2 separate regions of the Homo sapiens genome follow, and region 1 is linked to region 2. Evidence: promoter capture Hi-C in 16 types of primary human blood cells and fetal thymus (Javierre and others, 2016). All regions are on one chromosome and are shown on one strand. Each heading gives the region's core, a stretch centred on a gene start or on the middle of the fragment in contact. The rest is flanking DNA. Distances are from core to core; before and after follow the strand shown. Region 1 has its middle 870 kb from the start of VRK2. Region 2 holds the start of CCDC85A (coiled-coil domain containing 85A).

Evidence for each region. The method cuts DNA at HindIII sites, captures the fragments that hold promoters and counts their contacts. A CHiCAGO score of 5 or more calls a contact.
Region 1: a contact is called between a fragment that was not itself captured here and the fragment with the promoter of CCDC85A in region 2, in 1 of 17 cell types (endothelial precursors). The highest score is 5.2, in endothelial precursors.

The regions. Positions count from the first base shown.
Region 1 is chr2:57,179,209-57,184,272 of GRCh38, forward strand. No RefSeq gene overlaps it. Among named protein-coding and RNA genes, the nearest start is that of VRK2, 870 kb to the right of the region's middle. The HindIII fragment of the contact is 2,204 bases long and covers 1,531-3,734 here.
Region 2 is chr2:56,182,178-56,186,500 of GRCh38, forward strand. It overlaps CCDC85A (coiled-coil domain containing 85A), which reads left to right and starts at 1,813. Exons shown (of 6, transcript NM_001080433.2): 1 at 1,813-2,723. The coding sequence starts at 2,448. LOC100129434 (a long non-coding RNA gene) reads right to left here and starts at 3,593. Exons shown (of 3, transcript NR_125368.1): 1 at 3,521-3,593. RefSeq lists a silencer at 1,483-1,812. The HindIII fragment of the contact is 6,654 bases long and covers 1,200-4,323 here.

The DNA.
Region 1 (5,064 bases), core at 1,383-3,882, 1.0 Mb after region 2:
GAGAAAATACAGTGTTTGTCTTTCTATGCCTGGCTTATTTCACTTAACATAATGATCCCCAGTTCCTTCCATGCTGTTATAAATGACAGAATCTCATTCTTTTTTTATGGCTGAATAGTATACTCCCTTGTGTATATGTACCACATTTTCTTTATCCACTCATTTGCTGATGGACACGTAGGTTGCTTCCAAATCTTAGCTACTGTGAACAGTGCTACCACAAATATGAAATATATGGTATTCAACTGTTACATATTTTTTATTTAGTTATATTTGTATCTATAAAATTCAGATCCAAATATTCCTGTCTGTAATTAAGAAAGAGAACTGTGAGTAGTCAGGGCCAAAGAAGAAACTGTATTAAGAACAGAAAGGCTTTTGCAGATGGCTAAGCATAATTACCAGGTAGAAAAAGGGTCCAACAAGGCGTTCTAGTATGAAGGGTTAGCAACATGCAGCAAGAGCAGCATGTACAGAACAGATGCAGTTTCTCCTCTTCTGAGAGATAAAGCCTCTGGATGACCATGCTAGCAATGATGCACTGCCAACCAGTCATATGGAGGAAAACAGTAAAGAGATGACATTCCTTGAACAATCTTTGATGAATTACATGAAAACTGAGAAAGTGCCAAGAGAAAAGTAGGAAGTGCGAAGTAAGAAAAAATAAAAAAAAAAAAAAATAAAGACCTCTTAAATTGTCTGCTAACAATTGGAGACTTGTGGCTATTATTTACTTCAAATCCCAGGTCAGGGAGTAAATCAAGCTGTTTAACAGAAGACATGAAGAAACCGGTAACATACAGTTATAAAAGTAGAAGATATTAATAGCCATCATCAAAGCTAAAGGACTGTCATAAAGATGAGAGGTGAGATCAATCAGTACCCATCTTTCAGTCCATTCAAGGGACTTTCCTGCTCTGAGTGACGTAATTTGGAGGCCCTGAATATCTCAAATACACACAAAATAAATGTATTAAAGAATACTCAGACACACCGGTACAGCTCAACCCATAAACCACACATCTGTTCTTCTGACTGAGTCAGGCCTCTAGGAAGTTCCTTACCACATCTCTTGCTCTATATCTTCAAAACAAAGAACAACTGTTTTTGGAAGTTCTGAAGGTTTGGATTGTGCTACTAACTTTTTTTAGGGCACTATTTTGAACTATAAGGAGCTTTTCAGCTTTGGAAACACTTGGATGAAGGAAGAAAAAAAAAATTAACTTGTGAATCCTTCTTTCCAATAGCAAGGAAGCGATACATTCTTGAGTAATGAAGCATGTTTTGCCAGTCACACCATGCATTTGTTTCCTCCACGCTTCTCTTATTGTTCCAGTTTAGGATCTAAGAGATAATAATCACAATAAAAAATTTGATTTATTTTATACAATAAGATGCAGTTTTAAAAAAGGTAAAACAAGAGGTGATCTTCAAATGGAGGGTGAATTGTGGTCTTAGACAAAAACTAAAAGTGAATTTATATTTTCCACATTATTGAGTATAAACTAATTTACCTTTAATATCAGTGAAAGCTTAGCAAAAAAATGCTAACAGATCTGAATGATTTCACTATTAAAATGATTACAGTATTTTTAAAATTTTAGAGAAATTTGTTTCCTAAATAGATACAACATGTGGAAAAAAAGATAGATACAACATGTGGAAAAAAAGATAGATACAACATGTGGAAAAAAGGGAATACAAATATTATTCCAATAAAAATAAGATAATTAGAACAAGAAAATCAACACAATTTCTATGACTATGAAAGATAAGATTCATGAACATATAAGCTCAACACTTATTTCTATAGGGAATAACACTGGCAATTATAGATCAAAGTATATAAAGAAAACAAATTTGGCAACATATGCTATTTCCATTTTTTTAATACTATGTTACCATTGAAACATTTGAAAGAAGAATGGAAACAATAATCTATGAAACTAGATATTGTTTTAAGTGATGGTGAAAACTGCAATCTGAGATAGCAATTTATAAAATGAAATTACAGTATTTTGTAATATTTTCTGTGATGACACTTTAATATTTGTCACCTCATCACAAAATTTGAACAATACTATTTCAATTCTTTGGTTTACACCTTAATCTAACTGCCAATTTAAGAATTTTATGGACGATTGTAATGGCTATTGTCTCAGTGGGCTAAAATTTTCTATATTGAAACTACAAAAGTAAAATAACTAGAGCTATAATAACTCAGAGCTGTTGTAGGCTGAGAGTGGTGACAGGGATTATCTACAAAGAGGCATGAGGGAATTTCTGGATGATGAAAATATCTAACAACTGCATTGCTTTGGTGACTGCATGACTATAAACATTTGTCAAATTCATCAACTGTACACTTAAGAAGGGTGAACATCATTATATGGAAATTATACCTCAAAAAGTTGACTTTTAAAAACAATAAAACATTTGTTCTTTAAATGCTGGCAATATATCATTATTCCAACAAATTATTTCAAAATAATTTGTTTTTAAAAGTTGTCTAATTTGGCATTACTCTCAACAGAAGAAAATGTGTTATTCTGATTATAACAACATAGTTGTTAATGTTGATAAAAATGTAAGTTAAGATTGCATAAACATAATTTGTGACTCATGTCAGTCTTAATGTATTAGTCATCCAAATGCCACTGACTCAGAAAATAATCAGACATGCATAATAAAATTATATTTATTTACAATTTATATTTTACCAACTTTCCTTCTCTGGAAATTGTAGCTTAATACATACATTTCAATATTTCCACTACACAGAATATTTTTAGCCACTTTAATGAGGTATAGTTGACAGAGAAAAGGCTGTAGATAGATATACATATACATAGATAGATATACAATGTATACAACTTGATGTGTTTGAAGATAAGTATACACCCAGGAAATCATCACCACAATTTATGCTATAGACTTATTTATCACTTCTAAAAGTTTTTTCCTGCCATTTTTAGTTATTATTATAATAATTACATTTTTCTTTCTGTGGTAGGAGCACTTAACCTAAGATTAACCCTTTTTAGAAAATATTTAAGTGTGTGATACAGTTTTGTTAACTGTATGCTCTACAGTGTACAGTAGATCTCCAGAACTTATCTTGCATAACTGAAACTGTGTACCCTTGAAAATCCCCCCCATTACCCCTTCCCCAATTCCTTGGCAACCACCATTCTACTTTCTGCTTCTATGTATTTGAATACTTGGGATACCACATACAAGCAAGATGATTCAGTATTTATCCAGAACAGAAAAATAGAAGATTTTTTGTATTAGTTATGTTAGCTTGATTTTAACTTTTAGACAAAGGGTATGTTGCCATCTCTTCTCTTGACACAGGTCCCACAAATGTTAGAGGTGTATCTGAGACTCTCTGAATCTATGAACCTCTGCATTTATCTATTTTAACTTATAGGGAGGTTCCAACATAAAAAAGAATAAGCTAGCCATTAGTGCTGCCCCCAACCAGAGTGAACAGACTTTTTAAAAGGCTGTGCATGCTATGAAACTAGAGGATTCAAATCCGAGTTCAACAGTTGTGACAGAAGGATAACCTGGATGAGATTCCCTGCATTCTTAAAATAACTCTGGTAAGTGATGGTAAGCATTAAGGGTAATATAATTTTTAAATACCAAACTGCCTTTTAATTACATTAATATTTACTATACATTGAATACTAGATTCTGTGTTAAGCATTTCTTAGGTAATTCATTTAAGCTTTACAGATTTTGAGATGGATACCATGTGTTTCATTTTGCAGACAATGAAGCCCAACCTGAGAGAAATTAAATACTTTTATCAGGATTAGCCTCCCAGGATATGGCAGAGTTTGGATTTCAATCCTGGTCTATGAGTCTTCAGCAACCATGGTATTATTCCTTACACAACTGCCTTTAATTTATGTCTCATTTTTAAAAGAATGTTTTCTCTGGAAGAAGTTGTAACAGCTGCTTTCATTGTCCTACCATATCCCCTCAGCACTCACCCTTTCTGTAAACACCAGCCCACTTTCCAGCACACCTTCCCACATCTAGCCAGAATCTGGACCCATGTGTTCAAATAACAGGGTTTCCTTAGAAAATTGATCTGCTGATTAATGGAAAATTGTAAAGGGTTCTAAAAAGTGTAGGAAAATATTACCTTACAGTCAAGGTAATTAACACTGGATAGATTGATAAAACTAGTTTTTAATAAAATTTTAACATTAAAGATGCACCAACACAAACATGAAATTTGATTTTCTCTTTTGAAAAATAATTTTATGTAATATCGAGAGACAATTAAACATTTTTATTAGCCTTTTGAGTAAACTACAATAAAAGACAGGGTGGGGAGAGAGAGAAGACAGATTCACTTGACCTCATGCTGTCTTTATTGGGTCTTTATTAGAAAGCTGATTCTCTCCTCTCTTAGTGAGTATGAGATTTTGCATTTTTAAAATATTCGAGTAATCATTCTGGCTAAATGAATGACTGATAGTGACCTGAAGTTCTGTTTTGTGATATCCAGTGTTTCAAACCTTTGATATTTGACAAGTCTTCCAAGATCAAATTCTAAATTAAAAAAAAGGTAAAATTTAGGTCCCCTAAAGTGCAAAAAAGACATATTCAGCTTATTTAATATATTAAAATCATATAGGAAACACTGTCTGATATAAAATGGTGTTTAACTTTCTCTGGATTATGTTCATATAAATATTAGTATGTGTTACAAAATTATATGTTTCCTGTAATTGTGATATGTCTCTATATATGTTGCTAGTAGTAATTATAATTATTGTGTAAAATTGATGGTATACCACAGAAATAACCAAGATTCCTAGTGAATTTTGGCTTTAACTATGGCTGTCCTGAGAATTTTGTCACCCACAGACAACTGTTGTCTTGTTTTGAGCCTCTTCAAAAGGTGGTTATAATCAGCTGTAGGACTTTGACAGGTGCTCTTGAATTCAGGTCTTTTATAGCTTTGGAGATTGTGACATTAGAATAGAGGAAAACCTTTCAGAACTCTCATGGAAAGCTGGAATGTTCATGTATATCAAGCAG
Region 2 (4,323 bases), core at 563-3,062:
AAGGTCGGATGGTTTGTTCAAGGACAAGAACTAACAAGTAACAGAGATAGGACTTATCTTTTTCTGACCTTCACTTTCCCTTTCTGTGACAAAACTGGTCTTAGGAACTGTGTTGAGCAGAGCCTTCTGTGGGCGTGAGAGCGGCTTGGAGGTGTCAAAGAAAAATTGCATCCGATATAGTTAAACAGACAAGGGGGAATTATTCAAGGCTATTGCAATAGGGAAGAGAGAGAGGGAGGGAGAGGGGAACTAGTAGAAGACTAGTGGAGGAGATTAGGATGGGAAGTTGGTCAGTGTAATGAGGCCATTTGTGTTTCCTAATTGGAACTTATTAAAGTTAGGCTCCTCCTCTCCACAAACACTAGGAGATAGGGACCCTTTTTTCCTTGATGATTACATTTCAAAGGGATGCCTCACAGATCCCTGAGAAAGATCCCCAGGCTGTAAAACCCAGCAAGAGGCGGAGAGATTTACATGTCAAAGGGTCAGAGGAAACATTCACCAATGGAAGTTGGCTAAAGTAAATGCTCTGAGAAAAGGAAGGTCTGGGGCCTACAGTTAGGAAGAAACCTGTCTAAAGTTTAGTTAAGCTGAGGGGAATGTTAAGGCCATTTGGTCACCGTAAGCAGTACCACATTTCCTTGCCTCTCCCGGGAGCCAGGTCTCAGTGTCCCCAATAGGGGACACGCACTGACCGGCGGGTGAAGGGACTGATTTTGATTATCATCCTACCAGATAGAGATTATTCCCTCTGCACCCGGGTTAACTGAAACCCGGTGGGGGTAGATCCTTGCCATTTTCCGGCCCTGTACCCCACTGGAAATAACATGCGGTGGTCAAGGGCATCCACCTCTTTAGGCAAAAGCATGTTTTCAGCCCAGAGACGATTCCACCCAACTTTACAAGAGGATAGCCCAAAGATAGAAGCCAGGGACTCAGACTTCCTCCTTCCAGAAATAACCATCATAAAAAAGCCGACCCAGTAAACGCCTGGCAGCCTGCGGCATAGAAGAAAATGGAAATCTCCTTGGCTGGCATTTCAGCTTGCCTGAGGGGGCTTGCTTTGCTCCGAGGGGAGGTGACTGTGCTGACCTTAAAATCCAGGTTTCAGGAAGCAGGAGATGAAGGTATTTTATTTTCGCCTAAAGGCTTTGATATTTTTCAAATAAAAATTTAAAAGATCCAGTACCTTCTCCCGAAGCTTCTTCATAGAGTAGTGGATTTTTAGAAAACACAAAGGCCTAGGGGTGGGGCGAGAGTGGGGGGTGGGGATGGGTAGCCCCATAAGAGCAGTGCCCTGACGCCTCTTTTCGCCCTTTTCAGACCATTTGGATTTTCTTAAGCTGCCCCTTTCCCCAACCCCCGTTTTTGCCATTTGCCTCTCCTCCCATTCTCCAAAGTGCAAATAACTGGTTATCCCTCAGGTCCTGCTACCCCATCTTTCCTGATCCCCGATCCCTCCAAATACGAAGCACCTCGCATTTGGGTCAGCAGCTGTTTCCCCTGCCTGGTGACAAGGCCGGTGTGCAGAGGGCAGAGGAGGGAGCTTCTTCCGCCACACGGTGGCGCGCGCGAGCCTCCCAAAGACCGGGCGGCCACAGCTCCTCACCTTCTCCCCATTCCAGCCCCACCCGCCCGGGCGCAGAAAGAGCCGCGCCCCCAGCCCTCCCGGGCAGGACAGCCGGGAGCGCACCTCGAGGGCCCGGGCAGCGGTCGAGTGGCAGCTGCGTCCAGCCCATGCGGGAGCTGCTGCGGGTTACGGGTGGCCCCAGCTCCAGGCTCCTCCTCCAGCCGGTCCCCCACCCTCCACCCCTTCTCGACTCCGCTCTGCAAATCGAAGGCTTTCCGGAGCAGCCTAGGAGCGGCCGCGGGCGCAGCGAAGGCGGCAGGAGGAGCGCAGCAGCCTTCGGGCAGCCGCGGCGGCGTCGCTAGAGCAGCCGGGGAGGCGCCGCGGTGCCCGGCGCGCCCTCCAAGCTAGGAGAGGGGAGAAGCCGGGGGCTGCAGCTGGGCAAGGGGGAGGAAAGTGCGTGTGCGTGCACGCCTGTGTGCAGGGCAGAGAGTGCGGGGGGCGACAGTCTCGGCTTAGGGCGGAGGAGAGGGCAGGGGAACGGCGGTGCAGCTCCCCCGCTGTCCCCGAGGATTTCCCGCGGCAGCCCCGGGCTCCCCAGTGCCCCTCACCATGGACTTGCGCGGAGTTGGGACGGGCCTCGGCAGCAGCAAGCGGCTGGCTGCCGGGCCCTGGGGGAGCGCGGGCGCGCGCGCGGGGATGGCGAGGTAGGATGGCCACCCAGCGCGACCCCCGCCGCCCCAACCCAGCGGCCCCTGGGCGGTGCCGCTGACTCGCCGGAGCGCACAGGGGTGTGGGCGGAGGCGGCCTCGCCGCGCCCGCGCCTTCGGGAGTCGCCTCGCCTCTTCCACCCACTTGCACCTGCCACCCCGCGGATACCATGTCGAAGGCGGCCGGAGGCGCGGCGGCGGCTGCGGCGGCGGCGGAAAGTTGTTCCCCAGCCCCGGCCGGCTCGTCCGCGGCCCCGCCCGCGCCGGTGGAGGACCTGTCCAAAGTGTCGGACGAGGAGCTGCTGCAGTGGAGCAAGGAGGAGCTGATCCGCAGCCTGCGGCGCGCCGAGGCGGAGAAGGTGAGCGCGATGCTGGACCACAGCAACCTCATCCGCGAGGTGAACCGCCGCCTGCAGCTGCACCTCGGCGAGATCCGCGGCCTCAAGGTGAGCGCGGGCCAGGTGGGGAGGCGCGGCGCGGCTGGGAGCGGGGTGCCCCGAGGAGGAGGCGGGGCCAGGCAAACTTTCCCTCCCTCCCTCAACAGGTGACCCTCCCCTTCTCCCGGTCGGCACCCCCTACCCCCAGTCCCCAGCCCCTGTGTAACTTTTCCAAACTTCGGAGGCGTCTGCTCCCCTCCTCTCCCCAACACGGGGCGCTCCACTGTCTGGCTGTTCGGGGAGGCGCTGAGGACGCTGGAAAGCAGGGAGGGAGGTGAAGGGCACGCGAACCTTTCATTTCTTAGGGAGGCTGGAAAATCTGTGCCTGGGGAGCCGGGTTTCAGTCAGTTAGGCGGAAAGGCCAGTGAGGGGGTGAATCCAGGGGATCTTCGCCTTGGAGGGTCGGGAATGCGGCTGCTCTGGGCCAGCAGCTCTTGGGCGGGCAGAGGGCGAGGAAAGGGCGCCACTGCCAGGGAGAGCGGCTGGCGGGGCGCCCGGGAGAAGCAGCGGGCGCCACCCTCAGAGCAGTCTTGTGTCACCGGGTACATAGGAGTTCAAGCTCTGCCTTCACGTCTTCTCCCAATTCCTGTGCTTTCCCTCTCCCGGAGTTTGGAAGGCATCCCCTGGAGTTGCCTTACTCCCCTTCCCACTTAACCCCAGGTTGACTGGGGGAAAGAGGAGGAGCAAAGAGACTCAGTATGGAAGGAGCAGCATTTTGACAGAGTACCCCAAGTGTTGGTCAGTGATGGTTTCTTTCTGAGCCAGCCCCCCTGCCACCCTCTTCTAGGAAAAGAAGGGAAACGTACCCCAAGCCCACTAACTTTCTTTTCTCCTTGGAGAGCGCCGGGTCTGCGAGGAGTGTGCCTGCCCAGCTGCAGTACACTAGTGGCCGGGAACCGCCCTGCTGGCGAGCACCACAAACTTCCTCTCCTTCCAGCTAGCGCTGGTGCCTCCTGGTATTCCTTCCTCTCATTGTTCTGCTTTGTTTGTAGGAAGCCAGACACAAACGAAATCACTGCAGGGACTTCAGGGAGCAAATTCCCGAAGGCACAAGCTGTTCTTTTCCCCTTTCCACTCCTATCCCCACATATCAGACAGTAGATGCTGTTCCGGAATTGCCTCAGTGCTCCAGCTCTGGGATTCTGGGGCAAGAAAGAGTGGGAAGAGTGGAATGCTCAAGGCTCACCTATGTGCTGGGCCCAGTTCAGGTGGAGATGGCCGTCTCCCGAGGCCGAAAGTCATTGTCATATAGTCCCTAGAGTGGGTGCAGGTAGGAAGATTCCTCCAGTCAGAAAAATGCCAAGGCTTACTCTCTCCTGTGGTTGAATTCATTACTAACAGAGTGTTTATTAAGTGCCAGTCTCTTTGGGGAATAGAGGCAGGCTAGTGTAGTAGGAAGATGATCTCAGAGGTGGGTTTGAATTCTAGAAACCTCATTTGCCAGGAGGGTGAGCTTGGGTAATTACTTTCTCAGATCCTCCTTTTATTCACCAATACAATGCAATGATAATAACTTTCTGAGGGTGTTATGGCAATAAGTTATGATTATGTAGGGGAAGGTTTAATACTTGACTATAAAATGGTAGTTACTGTCATCAGGAAAGGACTT